Linked DNA regions of Homo sapiens: region 2 is linked to region 1. Evidence: promoter capture Hi-C in 16 types of primary human blood cells and fetal thymus (Javierre and others, 2016). All regions are on one chromosome and are shown on one strand. The core of a region is centred on a gene start or on the middle of the fragment in contact, and the rest is flanking DNA. Distances in the headings are between cores, read along the strand shown.

The links. The method cuts DNA at HindIII sites, captures the fragments that hold promoters and counts their contacts. A CHiCAGO score of 5 or more calls a contact.
Region 2: a contact is called between a fragment that was not itself captured here and the fragment with the promoter of CDK16 in region 1, in 1 of 17 cell types (fetal thymus). The highest score is 7.5, in fetal thymus.

What each region holds. Positions count from the first base shown.
Region 1 is chrX:47,217,167-47,220,288 of GRCh38, reverse strand. It overlaps CDK16 (cyclin dependent kinase 16), which reads right to left and starts at 1,608. Exons shown (of 16, transcript NM_006201.5): 1 at 1,184-1,608. LOC105373194 (a long non-coding RNA gene) reads left to right here and starts at 1,639. Exons shown (of 3, transcript XR_949047.4): 1 at 1,639-1,786. RefSeq lists silencers at 1,095-1,164, 1,175-1,284, 1,305-1,464, 2,165-2,274 and enhancers at 882-1,521, 1,665-1,734, 1,855-1,974. The HindIII fragment of the contact is 18,663 bases long and covers 1-3,122 here.
Region 2 is chrX:47,833,648-47,836,769 of GRCh38, reverse strand. No RefSeq gene overlaps it. Among named protein-coding and RNA genes, the nearest start is that of ZNF81, 1.7 kb to the left of the region's middle. RefSeq lists an enhancer at 1-120. The HindIII fragment of the contact is 409 bases long and covers 1,439-1,847 here.

The sequences.
Region 1 (3,122 bases), core at 359-2,858:
TAGCACCCCCTGGAACCTCAACATACTCTGGTCCTCCGCGGACACAAGGGCACAATCTTCACAAGGTTCTGATGCTTATTAGCATATTCCAGACTTCACACAGCTGACTCTCGAAATGGCACACATTGAAGTGCCTCTATGTCTCTAAACCCACATTAGCAACCACCAGTACTTCTATTACCCTGCTCCTTCCTAGTGTGCCCTCGAGACTCACATTCCCTGTGTCCATGGACACACTCACACCTCACATCACCTTTACCCTTCGTCCACTAAGCCTCTGACAGTGCTAAGACACTTCCCCACCACTCCTTCCTGGGCCCAGACAGACACGCAATTCTCATCTCCTTTAGGCCAGGCTCAGGTATTCCACAGTCCTTCCTCCGTTAGATACCCTCAGGTCCTTCCTCCACTCTGCCCTCATTAGCATATACTGGGTCCCAAACTACCTAGACCTTCGAGGCCACAGGCATACACCCTCTACAGCCATGACCCCCACTGGCGCACACACCACACTCGAGTCCTTCAGCTACCTGCCCTCCACAAGCACACACTGCATTCTCACACACTGCAGGCCCCACGGACAGACACGCAGTATTAACACCATCCAGGGCCTCATCGCCACGCACCAGGCCTCAGAGCCCTGACCCCACCAACACACGTTCTGGTACCTGTGCCACCCTGTCCCCCATGAACACACACCGGGCCTCTCTGCGGACATAATCCCTATGAGCATGTCTTAGAACTTCCTCGACACCCTACCCCCCGTTATACACCCTCGGGTCCCTCACCCGCTCCGCACCCCGCCCTCCTTCCACAAGCACACACGGGGCCTTGAACCTTACACGACTTATTGGCGTGAGGCTTACTGCCACATGCTCCGACCCCCATCAGCAACCCCCCCAAGTCTTTCACCCCATTGTCACCCATTTCCACACCCTTTGGTCCTTTGACTCCCCCAGGTCCCCATTAGCACCCACAGCACTACCCAACCCCAGCTCCCAGGACAGGCCCAGGGCGGGGCCAAGGTCAGGGAGGCCCCAAATGACCCCCCGCCCCGGTGCATTCTGGGAAATTCGCCGGGGGTGGGGGCACCTGCCAGCCCCGCAGCCCAGACCCCTGGGCACCGCCCGAGGTGGGTTCTGAAGGAGGAGGGGCAGCCTCCACGCCTCGGGGACGCGCTCACCGGCGGGGGCGCGCGAGCAACCTCAGAGCCGCGGGGCCGGCGCGGCGGCGCCTGGGGCGGCGGCCCGGGATGAGGCCGCGCGACCTCCTTCTCCTCCTGTTCGCCGCAGGCGCCCGTCCCAGTAGTCTTCAGCCATGGTTGCTGGGCCCGGGCCGCCGCCGGCTGAGGAGGAGGAGGCGGCGGCGGCGGCGGTGGCTGAGGCGGAGGCGGCGTCCCGCTCAGCCGGCCATGAGCTTGGCCGCTGCGGGCGATGCCCCCGGACTCGTTGGCGCCGGCTTGAATCCGAGTGCTCACGGCGGCTCGCGGCACAGAGCGGTCTGATCGCGGAGTGGCGGCGGATCCCAGGGCCGAACAGCCAACGGCCCAACCGCCGCGCGCGCCGCGCTCCGCGCATGCGCACGCAGGCGCTCGGAAGGGTGAAGTGGAAAGGAGGGGACTCACCTCGGACTGCATGTACCAAAGGACCCGTCCGCAGCGGGAGGGGACGCGGCCATCGCGAGCCCAGAGGAGGATGCGGCGCCAAGCCGGAGACGGCACCAGGGAGAACTGTGGAGGCTGTTTAGTACTCAGTTCCGATCTTGGCAGAAGTTTGCTAGCGCCTAGGTGAGCAGTGGCCAGTAACCTGGCGCGTCAATCACCACTCGTTCCCCCTACTCGGTCTCACTTGGTACATCCCCATGGTGGCAAACGGGACTTTTGCAAGGAGGAAAAAAGACAAATGAAGCACTCAGTTCTAGTCCCTTGAGGTGCTTGGGGAGGAAGGCATTTTAAAGGTTCGCGAGAAGATGACTTTTCGAGGAGAGGCAGCCTGAAGAGTTATTGGCCTTTACCACCTTAGCTAGGACGGCCTATCCCCGCCCAACTGCCCCCTCCACCGCTACCTCATTCCCGTAGTGAACGTGTGCAGCCCCGCCCTTTGAGGTTGTCGCCCAGCCAATCTGATTTGCTCTCTGTGGCGAGGCCGAGCAAGAATAAAGGGCGTGGCTGACTGAAGAGGCGTGATTTCGCTCTCTACCCGACTCCGCACGCCTCCGCCCAGGTTTCATAGGTTTTCACCGTCGGCGGGGGTGGGGTCTCCTTTTTGTTCTGAGCTCCTCCTTCGCTATAGGCCGAATATTCCGCAAGGTGATTGGTCATAATTGCGCTCAATCGAGTCTCGTCCCGCCTTTAGCCCGCCCTCCATCTCATACAGCGGGCCTCCCGGGGTGGAACCCAGGCTGAGAAAGAAGGAAAGAGGCGGATCCTTAGAGGCGCAGGAGCCGCTACTGCGCATGCTTGGAACTTCGAGCGGGGCGGAGCCTCTTTTCTGCCTCACACGAGTATTTGCATAGGCGCCGTGCGTTGGATTTTCCTGCCACCTCTCTTGCCCGGCACAGCCCCTCCCGTGCCTCCCCTCACTCTGAGGGTTTTTTGTTTTGTTTTGATGTCAGTCAACACAAGTAGAACACTCCGCGGTTTTATTTCCATTTTATTTATTGGGCGCATGTTGTGTGCCAAGTACTACCAGGCCGACCTAATCCTTCACTTCCTTCTGCCTGGAAAACCACACTATCCCCAAGTCCAGCTCAAAGGGCTGCAACCTCCAGCAGGCCTTCTGGCACATCCTTACACTACCCTGTTCCAAGGCAGCCTCCCCGCCTCTTCCGGGCTTCCCTTTATGGCAGCCTTGATCACAGCAGTTAGGATTTTCAGTAAGGTTTACATTAGTGAGATTTCCCGGGCCATGATGGGAGTGGAAATATTTGACAAAGATAAAAGTCCTCGCCTTGGCATAGAACAGGCTCATCACTTCTCTGACCTCATCTCTTCCTCTTCTTCCCCTGACTCACTGCCACCATACTAGCGCTCTTTCTAGCTGTTTGAGTGAAACGGGCACAATCCAGCCTCAGGGGTTTTGCATTTGCTGTGGTTCCCTTTGCCTGGAATGCTGCTGGCCCAC
Region 2 (3,122 bases), core at 394-2,893, 620 kb before region 1:
GAAGTGGGTGCTTTGGGACGTTCGGTACCCCTCGGCGGCGTGGTCAGGTGGGGAACATGGCCGCGCCCACGTCGCGCTTCCCCATGGGATACACCATGTTGGAGGAGTGTCCATCCGTATTGAGGATGAGGACACCTCTGAACTCACAGAGCAGGCTGTGAGTTTAGAGCTGTCTGCTCTAAACTCAGGTGGAGCTGTCCCGCTGGTGGCAGGGAGCACGGGTGGGGACGTTTCTCTGGGCGGGCTAACTGGAGGAGGGGGTCTTTGGACCTGTAGTCTATGGATCTGTGTGATACCGCTCCGAGAAACTGAAGGGCCTCTTGGAAAGAATCAGGGGCGGCCGCGGCTATCTCCTGGCAGATACCACAGGATGAGAAGCGGGGAGATGTCAGGCTGGTTACAGGCTTCTCCTAGGACATACCACAAGGGGAGGAGGAGGAGGAGAAATCATGGTTATGCAAGCCCTCCTAGGATATGCCATGAGGTGGGAAAAAGGGAGAACTCAGAGTGCTGGGTTCCCCTCCTGCTGTGCCTGTGGGGCTTGGATGCGAGGTTTGAATGCTGCAGCAATTTACCTTATCTCCCACTCCATCTACCCCAGCTAAAAAGGGACTACGTAGTACCAATACTAATAATTTTTAATGTGTCCTTAGTCCAATGCAATATGTCAATAAAAATCTTTAGGAAACTTTATTATTTTTATTTCCTCATGAAGTAAAATATATGTGGTCATGGTGCCCTTACTTTGGAAATGTAGCTTTAATACAAGGCTCTGCTTCTACCCTTCAACCAGTTTGCTGCTCCATATCACCTCCAATGTGTAAATTCTGGAGATGCCCCTGCCCTCTGGGAGATGTCACTGGAGCAGAAGGGGAAGAAGTCGTGCAGTCCTTCACCTAAGAATGCCTATTCATCCTTCAAAATCAAGTTCAAATATCTCCTCCTCCAGAGAATCCTGACAGAGCTAGAAGCCTGTGTGCCCTCCTGAAAGCCTTTCTGAATCCTCAGGTGAAAAAAATATTTTGAGAGGACCTGGTGTAGGCTGAAGTGTGGACTTGCTGGGGGCTCTCAATCCAGTCTTATCCCCTCTGGCCCTCGGTTTAACAATCTCGAAGGTTAGAGGTGTCCTAGTCCAATTAGCCTCAAACTAATTTTTAGTCTGACAGATCCAGCAATCAATAAGGGAGACTGCACACCAGGGGCACCATGGGCAGCTCACTAAGCAAAGGAAAAGATAGAGTTCTTATAGGATTTTGAGGAATAGTGGAGTTCAGATGAAATTAAATGAAGCAGTGTTTTAGTGGGCTCAAAGGAAAGCAGGGCTGTATGTAAAGGGTAATTGTCAGGTCTGGACTGTGAAGTGAACCCAGAGTGCTGTTTCCTTGGAAACAATTTAGATGTAGAATTTTGTGTCCCCAGATAACTCTTGCCTAAAGCTTTGCACCTGGGTTGAAAATTGAATCTTGCTTCTCTGTCTGGAAGTGACTTAGAATCTCCCATGAGAATCAGATGTTTCCCTCTTACTGATATCATTTCAAACAGCAAAGTTTCTGATAGTCTATGATTGTAGAGAACAAAGTTTCTCATTGACCAAGAAAGCAATAGGCACTTAAAGTAGGGGTTCTTTATGGCATTACAACTGCAGCCTGTCCTTAGAAGAAATAATGTTTCCTGTGAATTTTGCATTTGGCTTTATATGTGTCTGTTCTTCCATCCTGATGAATAGCAAGGCAGATTTTTATAGTCCGATTTTCATTTTAATTTTTTTAGAGAGTTGGTATCTTTGTCCATTTTCTGCTACTGTAACAGAATATCACAGATTGGGTAATTTATAAAGAAAATAAGCTTATTTGGCTCATAGTTCTGGAGATTGGGAAGTCCAACTTGGTGCCAGCATCTGGTGAGGGCCTTATTGCTGCATTATTCCATGGCAGAGGACAAGAGGGCAAGCAAGTGTATGAACAAAGAGAAAGCACAAGGGACTGGGCTCACTTTATAACAACCCACTCTTGAGGTGACTAACCCATTCCCTCAGTGACAGCATTAATCAGTTTATGAGAATGGAGCCTCCATGACCTATTCACTTTTTAAAGGCCCCACCTCCTAATACTGTTACAATGGCAATTTCAATATGAGTTTCAGAGGAGACAAACATTTGAACCATAGCAGTTGAACTTTGATTATCCCAGCTTGTCATTCTGCCCCTGCATCCCTGGTCTGGGCAAATGTTTGTTGAATGAATAAATGAAAGAAGAATGGAATCAGTGGAAGCATATTTGGCATGCATACACTTCTAATAGAGTGCCAAGAATCACTGTTAGTGTTCTTGGATGTCATAATAGTACCAAAAAAAAAAAAAAAAGAAAGTTCTGTTAGACCACTTCAGAGAAGAAGGAGATATAGAGCCAGCAAACATATAAAGAGATGTTCAAAGTCATTTGTGATAAGGGAAATACAAATCAAGACATGATAAAAATGACATTTTATACCCATTCAAATTGCAAAAACATAAAAGTCTGACAATACCAAGAGTTGGAGAGTATGTGGGCCAACAGGATCTTTTTGCCCTGTTGAAGGAATGTAAATCAGTGCAACCACTTTAGAAAATATTTTTGCATTTTCTCCTACAGTGAATATATACATACCTTAACAATCCAGTGAGTCCACTCTCATGAATGTAACCAAGAGAAACACTTGCACAAGAAACCTAGGATATGCATGTTTCTTAGTCTGTTTTCTGTTGCTTACAACAGAATACCTGAAACTGGGTAATTTCTAAAGAAAAGGAATTTATTTCTTACAGTTACGGAGGCTGAGAAGTCCAAGGTTGAAGGGCAATAACTGGTGAGGGCCTTCTTTCTGGTAGGGACTTTCTGCAGAGTCCCAAGGTAGCACAGGGTATCACACAGTGAAGGGGCTGAGCATGCTAGCTGAGGTCGCTCCTCCTTTTTTTTTTGAGACGGATTCTTTCTCTGTCGCCCAGGCTAGAGTCCAGTGGTGCGATCTCGGCTGCCTGCAACCTCTGCCTCCCGGGTTCAAGCGATTCTCCTGCCTCAGCCTCCTGATTATAGGCGCGCGCCACCACGCCCAGCTAATTTTTGTATTTTTAGTAGAGACAGGGT